Linked DNA regions of Homo sapiens: all the other regions are linked to region 2. Evidence: promoter capture Hi-C in 16 types of primary human blood cells and fetal thymus (Javierre and others, 2016). All regions are on one chromosome and are shown on one strand. Each heading gives the region's core, a stretch centred on a gene start or on the middle of the fragment in contact. The rest is flanking DNA. Distances are from core to core; before and after follow the strand shown. Region 1 overlaps FMN1 (formin 1). Region 2 holds the start of SCG5 (secretogranin V). Region 3 overlaps FMN1 (formin 1). Region 4 overlaps FMN1 (formin 1). Region 5 overlaps FMN1 (formin 1).

Region 1 (2,700 bases), core at 63-2,562, 350 kb before region 2:
TGCTGACAACACACTACCCTTTTGAGCATGAAATGAGAAAGCTCTTGTTAACTGGATACACTTCTCTTATCTTAATTTGATATACACACCACCAGAACAATTACTTGTCTCTGTAGACAGGGGGCAGTTTCTTGTACTGTCTTTGAAAGCTGCAGTAGGTGTCTGTATAACACAGTTCTGTTTGTTTTGTTTTAAAACTATATATGGCATGACCCTTATCTATGGCAAATAGATCCTTTAGACATAATTTAAAGGATTAACTGAGAAAACATAGAACAATGATAATTTTCAAATTTGCTAAATGAAGTTTATAAGTTGAACTGCATTAAATTGCTGATATTTGACCTATTTGACTTATAAAGCAGCAATTTTATATGGCTTAATGTAATATATTCATACCAAATGGCAAGGAAGTGAATGTGTATTGGAATGATATTTCTCTGAATGAATCGTATTCTGAAATGTTCACTGGGGCCTCAGCAGGTGTTAAGAGACTGCAGCTGAAAATGTCACAAGGCATTGTCCCTAGGAGAATGAAGCATCCCTTACATGGTGACTCTTTTCCAATTAGAATTGTTGAAGTATCACATGACCCTTATGTCCTGTGTCACTTACAGAACAATCTTGGCGAGAAATGTTTCATCTTTCAGGCAATCCATGAAAAATAAAGTTAGTGAAAACTGTTAAATTAGTATTACTTGGTCTAGTGAATAGGCTAAATATACATTGATCTCTCTGAGCCCAAACTGATATTTTACTCCGTAAAAATGAACGATTTTTATGACCCACTATTGATTGTTATGGTCTTTATAACATAGATTTAATAAAATTGTCTTCTTATTCCCTCATAGACCCTTTATAGTAAAAATTTCATGTCTTAGGAGTTATAGGAATATGATATTGCACATACACACAGGAAAATGATTAGGATATTAGAAGAAAGTGAATTAAACATCTAAGTTATATTTACTGCATGTCTTTTTGTTAAACATATGTCTTATCGAACATTTTCTTTATTTCTCCCACAGATACCAGTCCTTTTTCTTAAGTTTGTAAACTAAGATATGATCTATAATCTGCCATTGATGAATAAATTGGGCATCTTTTGATATTTCTAATTTATTTTCAGTTAGTCCTGAGGGAAATTTATAAACACTAAATCACACCAGTTTTTCTACTTCATACTTATACTATTGTTCTCAACCACATCATCCTCTAACCATCTTAAGTAATGAAAATCTGTGATTATTATAATGAGAAGAGGGTTTTCTTTTTGATACTTTATTTTCAGCATGCAAAACTAACATTGATTCCCGTTTTGATGGATACAATACAGGACCATTATTTTTCTGTAAAATTCCAACGTTCTAGAAAAGTGGCTCAGTCTTGAAACTGGATTGCCAAAACCAAATGGAAACTCCTTTCCTTTTGCTATAAAACAATGGTGGATGGGCTCAAAAACAAGGAGGGGAGAAAACAAGATTGCATTACAAATCTGGCAACATCAGCTACACTAGTAAAATCAAATCCAATGTTGTTTTATGACTCTGAATTTATGTGAGTACGCAGGATCAAAGGGCTTGAATCCCCCTGGACTACAAGGTCTATAGTTCATGGTAAAAACTCATCAAAAAGAACATTTTAGTCGTTTAAACTTTTCATTTTAATCAGCCACAGTAATAAAAGAGCCTTTAGGTGTCCAAAAATATTTTGCAAGATCAAGAGGTTGTTCTCTTGTTCGTAGAAGCAGCTCTCTTATTGGATCCATATAATGCCTGTGGCCTTTGAGTGTCAAAGGGCCACTGCCTCCACATTGTTTGCCCTTGTGGGATGGTTTCTTTTGGTTCTTCTAACTGTGCATTATGTGATAATAAATTACGGTGTCTGACGGAAGGACCATAAAATTTTCACACCATTTATCAAGCGATTTTAGCCATTTAAAGTTAGGTGTCTGACAGCAAGCCAAGTCGTTTGTAATGTTTAGATAGAAACAGTCTACTGCCTGCATCTTGACCAGCATCAAGAGACAGCCCTGCAGAGGAGAAAGAACACGAGGCTGCAGCAGAAGACTCAGCTTTGAATCACAGCCCTGATGCTCCCTAGATTGTGATTTTCGATGGTCCAGAATTTGGGGCTCCTACCTTCACCACAGTGTTGTTTAGATCATGTAGGGTAATATTTGTCAAGTTACTATGCAGCATATGAGAATCAATATGCAGTAGATGTAGATGGTGCAGGAAACAGCCTGAGCAGTCCAGCATTTCCAGCAAGAGATCTAAATAGGTAAAGCAGGGAGCTGGCCAGAAGGAATAAGTTGATGAGAAAGTATTCCTGAGAATGTAGAAGACAGCGAAATCAGGGACCCAGGAGATTCTGGGAAGAAAGAGGTGGCATTTCTTCTGAAACCGAGAGAAAATAAAGAATGAGGGCCTTTGTCTATGGGCTATAAATGCCTTTATTTCTTTGCTTGGTTGTTAGGTTTGGCCTTATGCATAGGAAAAGAAAGGCAGGTGGCTGGTGTTTCTTCACCTGTTCTCTTTGATATCATCTACTGCTGCTTCTGCTCTTTTCTCGTTTGGTTGCTGCTATGGTTTGGCTGTGTCCCCGCCCAAATCTCGAATTGCAGTTCCCATAATCCGTACGTGTCATGGGAGGAACCTGGTGGGAGGTAATTAAATCATGGGAGCAGTTACCCCATGC
Region 2 (2,738 bases), core at 34-2,533:
TTGTTTGCTCAGCCACATGCTGAGTGATCGTAGGCAAGTCCCTCAGTTTCCTCCTCTGCAAAACGGAGATAATTAAAGCATTTACCTTTTAGGGTTGTTGTGAGGGTGTGTGCAAATACATGTTAAGAGTGTTTAGGACAATGCCAGGCACAGAATGAGCCCCTATATTGCTATTATTATGTTGCTAACATTGCCTTAACAGTTCTGGAGGTTAGAATATGGGGAGGCAGTGGTGGTGAGAGGGAGTTAACTAGCCTGGGGGTGGGAGGGTCAACCTGTCCAAAATGTTGGTTTCTATGGGTATGTCTGCAAAACAAGTGAACATTATCCTTGCAGCTTACCCCACAGCTGCTTAACGTGTTTGGATGCATGCTTCAGGCAGCGGCCTTGCAAACCCTTTTTTTTTTTTTTTTTTTTTTTTTTTGAGACGGAGTTTCACTCTTGTTGCCCAGGCTGGAGTGCAGTGGCGCCATCTCGACTCACTGCAACCTCCACCTCCCAGGTTCAAGTGATTCTCCTGCCTCAGCCTCCCGAGTAGCTGGAATTACAGGCGCCCACAACCAAACCCGGCTAATTTTTGTATTTTTAATAGAGGCAGGGTTTCACCATATTGGTCAGGCTGGTCTCGAACTCCTGACCTCAGGTGATCCACCCCCTCCCCTCAGCCTCCCAAAGCGCTAGGATTACAGGCGTGAGCCACCAGGACCGGCGCAAACCCTCCTTCTAATCATTCTTCTACTGAGGATGGGGGATGGAGAGGTGGGAGGAGGCAAAATCGTGCATTTCCTTTACTGAAACAAAAATTTTTATACCCTCCAATTTCTTTTTCTGCAAAGAAAAGGCCTTTTCTAGCCACTAGATATAAAACCTTGCTCTCCAAAGAGCTGAGAGTAGCTGTTTAACAGCAAAATCTGCAATTCTGATGGAAAAGGCTGGAGGCAGACACGAGGCTCTCCATCTCCATCTTTCCCTTGTCCACTCTGAATGCAGGATGTCATCCCAGCAAACGCCGCTCTGATTTGATGAACTACACAATCTCCTCCCTCAGTACTCCCTTCCCCTTACTGATAGCCAAACATTCTAATCCCCTACGCATCCTTCGTCTGACCCCAGCCTCCACCTCAAGGATTTTAGCAGGACGCCCTCCCACAACTGGCAATACCAAATCTCGGGTTGGCGGCAGGCGGCCGAGCCGACATCAAAACTGTACTCACCGAGGGGCAGCCCGAGGAGCCTACTGCGGTATGGGCCTTGGTGGGGGTCAGGCCAGGAACGGGCGAACTGGAGAGCTAGTGCGTCACCCTCCTCCGCATCTTAGCTCCGCCCCGGCCCCTCCTCCAGCAGGTGGAAGCTGCCTCGCCAGGACTCCCCAGACTGCATCCCAGATAAGTGTGCCTCTCACCAGGAGCCGCACAGCTCTTCAACCCCCACATTCTGCATACAAACCTCTTGACTATGACATTTCCTAGAGACCCTCTTCAGCTCCATCGACCTCCATGTAAGTCATTCACCTCCTCAGTCTCAATTACAACGTGCCAGATCACCACTACAGCACACCTTTAATTTTGTCAACTTCTAGAATATGTTTTTTGTTTTTGTGTCTAAAGCCTTTCAGCTTCAAGAGGGAAGAGGCAATGAATGGTAGAGAGACAAAAGATGAAGTCCTAAGAACTTTTAATGGTGGCTATGATAAGGTATACCCTGCTCTGAGGGGCCTCTTACTAATCAGGAAAACTATGGGGATATTTAATACAAGAAGCCAGAAACTTCCATTAAAGTGATAAACTTGAAAATCTGTAGAAATATCAGCTCTGAGTGTTATTTCTAAACGTCCACACAAACCATCAAGTAAAATTCCACTTTGGCCTGAAGAGAAACCATACTCCCAGCATACTGTAGAAGTATGTCCAGGTAGTCCCAGATTCTTAAATAAGGGTTTATGGAGCACCTACTATGTGCAATCTTGAACACTGAAATTTGTTCAAATACTAAAATCAAAATGTAAAGCCATACAATAAATATGGCACTACAAATTTGATCAAGATGGAGGATGAGTAAAGAACCTGGGGGTCTCAAAACAAGTAACCTGATGAGGTTAGAATCCAGATCTATTTATCTTAGCTCTAGAGAGCAAATCCATTATCATCTACAGCAATTTTTATGCAATAAATAGAGGCTGGCAAAATTCATTTATGAGACACATGGCCTTTCATTTTGAAGCCAAGCCTCTTTCCCAGTACTTTTTCTTTCACGGATGCTCATCTGCTTCTTGCTTCTTGTTTCAATGCATGCTAAATCAACAGGACAAACACTATCCATTAAATGGCTCTAGGCTCACTGGCCATGCTGGAGTTAGTATTTATTATTGATGCACAGAGACTTTTTTCAATTCTGAGTTTTACTTTAGCTTTGTTCATTGTTATCTTCATTTTGTGGTTGAAAAAAATGAAGTCACTACAATTTACTGCTTTTGTGTTAAATTTAACTGAAATAGATCAAAATGCCTATGCTTCATTTGAAATTTGGTGTTTCAAAAATAAAACTTCATATATATTTAAGAGATCACAGAGGTTAGGTGCAGTGGCTCACGCCCATAATCCCAACACTTTGGGAGGCCAAGGTGGGAGGATCACAAGGTCAGGAGTTCGAGATCAGCCTGGCCAATATGGTGAAATCCCGTATCTACTAAAACTACAAAAATTAGCTGGGCGTGGTGGTGCATGCCTGTAGTCCCAACT
Region 3 (2,700 bases), core at 12-2,511, 320 kb before region 2:
GCCAAGAGTTTGTTTTTGGAACATCCTGATACTTCTTTTTTACAAAATTCAATTATACTTTGTAATTTCCCAAATGAATGGTTCATAAAAAAGTGAGATGATCCTGTAATAGCTTCTGCCATTAACTAAAGTACTAGTATTCCCTTTTTCCCAATAAAGACTCAGACATTTCCTAAAAAATCATTTCCCAGAATATTTATTTTGAGTCATGTTTCCGTATTAGTGTTCTCAAATTAGTGCACAGCCATTCCAGGGCAATAGCTCCCACCTGTAAGCCCTGGACGAGTGTGTCCGACAGCACGGGGAGCTGTTCCACACCTGTGTCCCACTAGCCTGCCTTCACTTCCTTCCCTGAGAGACTTCATGAGCAACAGGTAACTGTGGACCACAGCAGCCATCAAAGAGTCCCACTGGGAGATGTGGGCCCTTCACCCACGACCACGGGAAAGCTGGAGACAATCATTGTCTACATTGTTTCCTCCTCATTTAGTTGGCCGTTTTGAGAAGAAAAGCAATTGAATACTGAAGGTCTCACTGGTTTCATCATAAATCTAGGGCTTTACTTTTGAGCAAAATGAAAAGTAGATGAATAGGACATCAAGAGAGCCCTGCTTGGTGCGCATTTGAACCTGAAACATAACACGGGGGGCTGCCCCTCTATGATGTGTTAAGACTGCAACACGGGCACTTCCTGGTGGTACCACATATTCAAGTTCTTTTATTATGGGTCCCTCCAACTTTTTGTACCTATTAGCACTACTGCTTTTAAATGAAAATGACTCAAAGAGCCTGTGGAGTATTTGCTTAGGAGCAAAAGTGCAATTATTTGGGATACCTTCTCATAAAGGAGGCAAAATCATATTTTAATATTTTGTGCAACTAGAGGATTAAGTAGTTTATATAATGATTGCATCATAAATGTTGGTCTTGCTCTTCTGGGAAGCCAGAAACAAAATGTGAATTTTCAGCATTATGTGTACACTGCCTCTCATCTACCTAAATTGCTTTTGACTCCTGGTATGAACTGATTTTTTTTCTTTTGACGTTTTGCCTTCTTGGGTGTCTCTTTCGTGATTTCTAGAATAAGCAAGAGACACTTAAGGAAAAATAAATCCTCATCTAACTACCTTTTCAGCTTCTTAGTAAGTTTCTCATTTTCCTCCTCCTCTTTCTCTCTCTCTCCCCCTGCCTTCCTTTTGAGCTAGAATTGTATGTTCAGTGGTCAGTTGACCACCATGGCAGGTCATTCGTTGGGAAGCACGTCCTTATTATTGCCCTACCAAATGCTGGCTGTCCCAAAATCACTGAGAGGCAGTGTTCCAAAATTCTTTCATTCAGTATTGGAAATACCTTTCCCATAGAAATAGTGTTGTAAATGGTGATCAGGTGCTTAAACTGATCACGGTTGACTCCCAAAGCCAATTTACTCCAGAATATAAGTGAATTATAATACTAGTTACACTGGCCTGACCTCAGAGTCCGTGGGGCTAGAGCCAAGCAGGTGCAGGAAGTGGGGATGGGGCTGAGCAGTTGGCCTGACACTCTGCATCACTTCACTCTAGACGTCACCCCTTAGCTGCCCAGAACCTTCCCAAGGCCCAGACCAGTGGCCCTTAACATGCCGCATGCTCACTCCAGAATTCCCAGCTGACTTCCTTCTTCAAGATCCTACTTCTCCCCCGTCTCCCCCAGCACCACAGAGATAAGCACTTAACATCCGTGGTGCTTATGCTTCAAGTTGAAGTTAAGTGAGTAGCAGAGGGGTATGGCTGAGAGAGGAACACATACATGGATGTACTTCACTGGAAATGTTCTAGCCCTTGGGTTGGGTAATGGTTTCCCAGGTGTTCATTCTATTGTTATACTTTATAACTTCCATATGTCATACTATTACATGGTTCAACTATTGGCGAAATCATAATTTAAAAAATAAAAAGTAGAGGAGAGAAGAGGTGAATGTGGCCAAAACCAAAATGTCATATATCATGGGAAAGGCAGATCTATTGCAAAGTGTGAACACGCAGACCTGAGGAGCCAGGGCTGCCAACTGTTTTAAATACCAAAATCACCTGTAGTATTACAAAATTCTGTGGACCATTCCATGTAATAATAGTTATCTTTTTAGTTTTCATTGAGAAAATAGGTATGGAAATAAAGCTATATACTTTTAGATGTTATGGATTGTAACATATACCTATGTTTGATAAACAATAAGTATATAGATGAAATTTGTGGGCATTGATAGTATTTATTATTATTATTATTTTTGAGATGGACTCTTGTTCTGTTACCCAGGCTGGAGTGCAGTGGCACAATCTCAGTTCATCGCAACCTCTGCCTCCCGGGTTCAAGCAATTCTCCTGCCTCAGCCTCCCAAGTAGCTAGGATTACAGGCACCCACCACCACGCCCAGCTAATTTTTTGTATTTTTTAGTAGAGATGGGGTTTCACCATGTTGGCCAGGCTGGTCTTGAACTCCTGACCCCAAGTGATCTGCCCACCTCAGCCTCCCAAAGTGCTTGGATTACAGGTGTGAGCTACCATGCCTGACCAGTAAACATTAATAGTGTTTGAAATTAAGATAAGAAAGTAAACATTTGGGAGATGTGTTCTGACTGAGGGAACCCTGAGGAGTGACCACTGGAGTCAGCTCACGGAGGCTGTTCTGTTACGCCTGATTCTCAAGAGCTTTTCTTCCCT
Region 4 (2,700 bases), core at 29-2,528, 270 kb before region 2:
TTCAGCGGGAGCAGATCTGTACGGTCCCCTGGCCTTGCCTCCGAGTGGTCCTTCCACGCTCCACACCCCTCTCTACTGGCTCCCCTTCTTTCCACTTCTTGCAGTTTTTTTCATAGACTTGGTGTTTGCTCTCAAGGATGACCTCATTGTTGGGAGGGAAAACTGTGGGAAGATGTTTCTGCCTTCCCTTTCCTCAACTCTCAGATTGTACTACTGCCTCTTCCCATGAACCCCATGTTATCGTTGCCTTTGTAGAGGTCACGGAGTAGGTTTGTCAGAGTTTTGTGGGATATAGGTGACATGAGAGTTTCAAAAAACCAAGTCCTTCTATATTTCTTTCCCTGCTCTGTTCTCTTTCTCTTACTGATTGAATTTCTGTCGAGTTCTGAAAAATACCAGTATTTTGGGCAAAGCAGCTAAGTTTTATTTTGGCTGTTGCAGAGTTAACATTGTAAACAAAATAATTTCTGCTAATAGAGTCAAGTAATCCTATCAAACTTTGCTTTCCTGGGCTGGACCAGACTATATCTAGTCCATTTGCAAAACATTATTACATACCCGCTTTGTGCAAGAGGCTTACATCAGTCACTTAAGGAAATAAAAAGAAGAATAAAACAGGCTACGTACAAATCATTCTCAAAACCACCGTCAGCCGAAACCTGGTGAGCCAACCCAACCCTACCTACCTGTGGCATCTCCCACACTTCGGATGACCAGATTTACTTTGGCTAATCTTAACAGACTATACAAGGTATGCCTTTCTCACCACCGTGTCCCATGCTTCTTGCTCAGAGGTGCTCCCTCAGTCAAAGAGAACAACTCCCTTAAATAACTCTGCCTGTCTTTTTACTCATTAGAAGCCCTTCGAACAGCAAGTGCATTCTTTGTTTATATGGGCATGGTACACTTGGAGAGAGAAGTGTTCAGGGTTGAAAAATGGCTGGAGAGCTGAGAGAATCCTGCATGTTCTTTCTACTTAACCCTGGTCTTGTGAAAAGCCATCTCTTACCCGGAGGGGGAATTTTCCCTGTTGTATGAGACCCTGACCCCTTGCATGTGCCCTAAAGCAGGCACATAGTTTTTATGTGTGCCTGTTAGTTTGAATTTGTGATACTGATCTGCTTTTTGTCCCTGCTGACGGTTATTATATCTTAATGGGCGAAACACTACTCTAATGATCCTTGTGTATATAATTCTTGTGGTACAGAGCAGGCACCAGAGGACCACATAAAAATGTTTGCCTCAATTTCCCTGCAAAAAAGAAGCCCAGAAACCAGACTTGACCAAGTAACAGATTTTTAAAGGTAAAGGAATCTAATAAAATTACCAGCTTTTCACAGCGTGTGTCTACTTCCTTTTGACATATTGTGAGGTGTAGGTGAAATATTCTAACCGAACTGACAGTGTGAGTGGGACAACTAAGGAGGGAAGGAGATAAAAGTAAAAACCACCAGCAGTGATTGATATTGCAGTAGCAATGAGCTGTTGGGGTCTCCCCTTTGTGGACTTGACACTTCACCTTTCTGACACCATCTGCAGGAGTGTTAGTATAATGAGACCTATACAGATGGAAACAAAAGTAGGATTACTTGGAATTACTGTATCAGAGCTTTGAGGCTTGCTGTAAAATTGCATAGGCTTGTATTTGTTGGTTCAGTTTATGAGCGGTGTGCCTGTGTGCACACACATGCGTGGAAGAGACAGAGACAGAAAGTGAGTGTTTTCAAAGTATAAAATGGAGGGAGCGATCTGATCTTGGGTGACGCCGAAAATAGTTTAGTTGAAGACTGACTTCTTTCCACATTGTGATCATTATGATTACAAATTAGTTAACTAATTAATTGGGCTTATGTAATGGCTAATAAGTTTAATGGTAAGTGCTTGCAAGAATGACTTAATCGGAGAGCATTCATTGATTCTCTAATACGTTGTTCCAGTATTTTGAGAATAGAATTATCAGGTGTGGATTCTGGCTCTCTAGGAACCTAAACTATATTTGGTGACTAAGACATGGGATTATGTACATGTAAGGCAGTTCTCTTAGGCATCCTAGGACTTGGTAGGCCTTTTTATTTTTCAGACTTCTGGCTGATACCCTAACCTTCCCAGGCCAATATTATTAGAAATAATACAACTAATTTAATCTCCATAAGTTCTAGGCTCAGTATCAATCTCTTGATATTGCTTCTGCTACCTCTGAATTTTCTTTTACTTTTTAGATTTTATTTTTAAGATCCTTCCGTGGAAGAGGAGAAACTTCAGTGGAATACTTGGCATTGGCCCTAAGTTCATCTGTTTATCTACTTCTTTTACCTGTCCTTTCCTCTCTACTCCATTCCTTTCCCAGTCCCTGGGGGACAGATCAGTAGTCATGCTCACCTCTTAGACTCCTCTGCCTGTTTCTGGGGGGATGGTACAAAGCTCTTCCCCTAAACCTAGGCTCAAAGCCTCAGAGTGGTTTCAGGCTAAGTCCCCAGAGCTAGTTAGCAATGTCACTATAATAGTGCTCTGTAGTGTCTTTCTTTTTTGCCCTATCCTTTCTGTCCACACTATTCAAGTTTTTGCTACCTCTTGCCCATTACAATAGATTCTAAATTAGTCTTTTCAAATTTTGACTTTTTGTGTGTGTAATATAATTTTGTCCAATTTACTCCTCCATTCATAACTGCTCAACAGCTCTCTCCTGTATAACAAGTGTAT
Region 5 (2,700 bases), core at 114-2,613, 300 kb before region 2:
ACAAGAATGTCTTAAAGAGAAACATAACAGTCATTATGAAGGTACCTTTATCTATTTGGAAGCCCATGACTTAGAAGTGGGATGACTGTTACTAAGACAAGCTGACTTGTCATCAGTAGCATATCTACTTTTTACCAACCAGCCTCTTAATGTCCATAGTTTGGCCAGGTGGTGGAATTCAGCGAGTATTGATGTGAAGCATAAGCAAGAGATAACACTAGTTTGATGGCACAAAAATAGAAGTTGTATTTTTTAGAATTGTACTTGGGAGAATCAGATTGTCTAATTTATGTGAATTCTCCACGCTGTTGTTCAATCTTACCAAGAAAGGCCAGATCATTTACACACTTGTTCTATATAGCTGACCGTGTACCCTATGTGGATATTTGGTATACAGGTCGAGTATCCCTTATCTGAAATGGTTGAGACCAGAAACGTTTCAGATTTCAAATTTTCCAGTTGAGCATTCCAAATCTGAAAATCCAAGACCTGAAATACCCCACTGAGCATTTTCCTTGAGCACTGTACCAGCGCTGAAAAAGTTCTGGATTTTGAAATACTTCGTATTTTGGAGTTCTTGAGTTTTGAATTTGGGATGCTCGACCTGTATATCATTGTCATGAAAGTAAATGTCTACTCATATATATATGGTTTCTACATTTATTTGTTTGTTTTTGGTGGGGTGAAATAGTTGATTCAGACAGGAAAAGCAGCAACTTTCACATGCCCTTAGTTCCCTGAAGTGCCAGCAGCTATTCATTGGTGATAGCACATGTGGCTGTATTTGAAAAAACTCTCTGCTTATTTGCCAGGCTCTAGGATAAAACTGACTGTGCTGGAGATGGAAACCCTGTGACTGGAACTGAGTATGTTCAAATGTGAAACTTAAGCCAAAGAGCAAAATATGCACTCGATCTGGTATAGGTATGAATGTGTTTGGTGTCTAGCAAAGGTGTAGATGTAGAAATTAATCATCTTCCTTTCAGACAGGGAAGGCTCCATGGAAGAAGAGGGCTTCTGTGTTTCTCTTAATTTTGTAGCTATGCCAAACTCACTTGGCTGAGCAGACTTCCAGCACTTGTGGTCTATTCAGAACCATTTATTTTTATTTTTGGCCCTGTCTGCCAAGCTCAGGCAGAAAGCCGAAGATATACAGTGTACAGATTTTCTGTAGATGTAAAAATCCCACTGGACCTGACAAGAATTCTTTCTCAGCCTGTCTGGCAGAACTTTTCTAGCTGAGGTTGAAGGTATGATTTTCCCAGTGTAGCAAATCTGTCTTCCCATTTTTGTCTTAATTCTTATTCACAGAGGCAGGCTTTAAAAAAATTCACATATGTGAGGAATAATAATAATTTGTCTATACTGGCTTAATGTACAGGTTTAGACAGTGTGGGCCTGCCTTTCCCACTCTGGAAGGCATTGGGAGAGTCCCTTAGGCGATGTAATAGTACGCACGTGTGACATGCCCTAATCCTGGCATGTGGCAGGGGTCTGGAAAGGCTTTGCCTTAAACTAGGCATGTCTAATAGGGTTTAACGCAACCTGTGAATTTGCCCCTGCACAAGGTCAGCTTGTAGGTCAGTGGAATGCTGCACAAATTGCATTCTCCTCCAGACTGTAATTATACCTAGGAGAAAGCCATGTGCTGCCAAGTTCAGCTGACTCTAGATAGGGCGGAGATAAAGTGAGGGCTTGCTAACGTCCCTCAAAAACTGATTTTTAACAATCTGATATAAAACATCTCTTGTTTAAAAAAAAATGGTGATCTTGAGGTTTCTGAAGGAGCTTAGTGTAGGGGATGGTGACCAGCTGTTTCCTACCTTCCCTGAGAGCAGAAAAAGATGGTTCAAAATGGGAGCATGAGGAATTTGAGCCAAACATCAGGTAAAATAGTTCACTGCCAAAAGTCTCTTAATACTAGAAAATGACTTGGAGGATTATTACACATCAGGTAATATGCATATGAGGACAAAGAAGAATGAAAAGTGAGTATGATAAGGGATCATAGACTAGGAGTGGAATGAACAGTTTAATTTGTATTTACAATTAGCTGAAGTAGTGCTCTGTTGTATTGTTTGAGAGAAAATGGCTATAAATGTGTGCATTATCTAAATGTAACCTTTATAATGAAGTGTGCACATTCTTGTAAAGTAAGGTCTATACTTACATACGTGGACTTCTGGGCCAACCCAAAGGCAGAGGGATAAATTAGATGAAATTTGTAGGTTTCTTCAGTGCTAAGTGTTAAATGACTCCAAAATCCAATTCAACCAGAGTAACATTGGATAAGCAAAATCTTACAAATACTTACACTCTCCAGTAAATGTTTTCTGAACTATCTTTCCTGAACAGCCTGTAGTAGCCACTTTTCCCCCCAAGAACCTACATGGAATAAAATCAAGTTGGGAGCTTAAAGCATAAATTCTATCTACTGGCTTCACGTAAACATGGAAAATAATTATTTTGACATTCATATTATTGGTTCCTGCAGCTTGATTTTTTTCGCAGGCTGCTTTTTATGTTACGTGGGGATAAGGCACTAACCTGTGGGCCGGGGCTTTTGGGGAACCTTTCCTTTGTTATTTACCTAAGGCAAGCTAACTAACTCCTTTTAATATGATGAAGCTGGATGCTAATACAGTCAGGAATCCCACTAACGTCTAACAATCAAATGTGATAAACTGACCTCATGGTTTT

Evidence for each region. Contacts are between HindIII fragments. The CHiCAGO score rates a contact against its expected background, and 5 or more counts as called.
Region 1: a contact is called between a fragment that was not itself captured here and the fragment with the promoter of SCG5 in region 2, in 7 of 17 cell types (M2 macrophages, M0 macrophages, M1 macrophages and 4 more). The highest score is 17.7, in M2 macrophages.
Region 3: a contact is called between a fragment that was not itself captured here and the fragment with the promoter of SCG5 in region 2, in 6 of 17 cell types (M0 macrophages, M1 macrophages, M2 macrophages and 3 more). The highest score is 16.7, in M0 macrophages.
Region 4: a contact is called between a fragment that was not itself captured here and the fragment with the promoter of SCG5 in region 2, in 2 of 17 cell types (M1 macrophages and M0 macrophages). The highest score is 6.6, in M1 macrophages.
Region 5: a fragment that was not itself captured here is called in contact with the fragment with the promoter of SCG5 in region 2 in 7 of 17 cell types (M2 macrophages, M0 macrophages, M1 macrophages and 4 more); the score reaches 14.7 in M2 macrophages.

The regions. Positions count from the first base shown.
Region 1 is chr15:32,990,900-32,993,599 of GRCh38, reverse strand. The region is part of intron 7 of FMN1 (formin 1); the gene reads left to right. Among named protein-coding and RNA genes, the nearest start is that of FMN1, 200 kb to the left of the region's middle. The HindIII fragment of the contact is 4,209 bases long and covers 1-2,700 here.
Region 2 is chr15:32,640,255-32,642,992 of GRCh38, reverse strand. SCG5 (secretogranin V) reads right to left here and starts at 1,283. Exons shown (of 6, transcript NM_001144757.3): 1 at 1,215-1,283. The region is part of intron 9 of ARHGAP11A-SCG5 (ARHGAP11A-SCG5 readthrough); the gene reads right to left. RefSeq lists enhancers at 511-1,149, 1,150-1,790. The HindIII fragment of the contact is 7,166 bases long and covers 1-2,738 here.
Region 3 is chr15:32,964,968-32,967,667 of GRCh38, reverse strand. The region is part of intron 8 of FMN1 (formin 1); the gene reads left to right. Among named protein-coding and RNA genes, the nearest start is that of FMN1, 230 kb to the left of the region's middle. The HindIII fragment of the contact is 4,024 bases long and covers 1-2,700 here.
Region 4 is chr15:32,914,536-32,917,235 of GRCh38, reverse strand. The region is part of intron 10 of FMN1 (formin 1); the gene reads left to right. Among named protein-coding and RNA genes, the nearest start is that of GREM1-AS1, 200 kb to the right of the region's middle. The HindIII fragment of the contact is 4,132 bases long and covers 1-2,700 here.
Region 5 is chr15:32,940,883-32,943,582 of GRCh38, reverse strand. The region is part of intron 9 of FMN1 (formin 1); the gene reads left to right. Among named protein-coding and RNA genes, the nearest start is that of GREM1-AS1, 220 kb to the right of the region's middle. The HindIII fragment of the contact is 4,431 bases long and covers 1-2,700 here.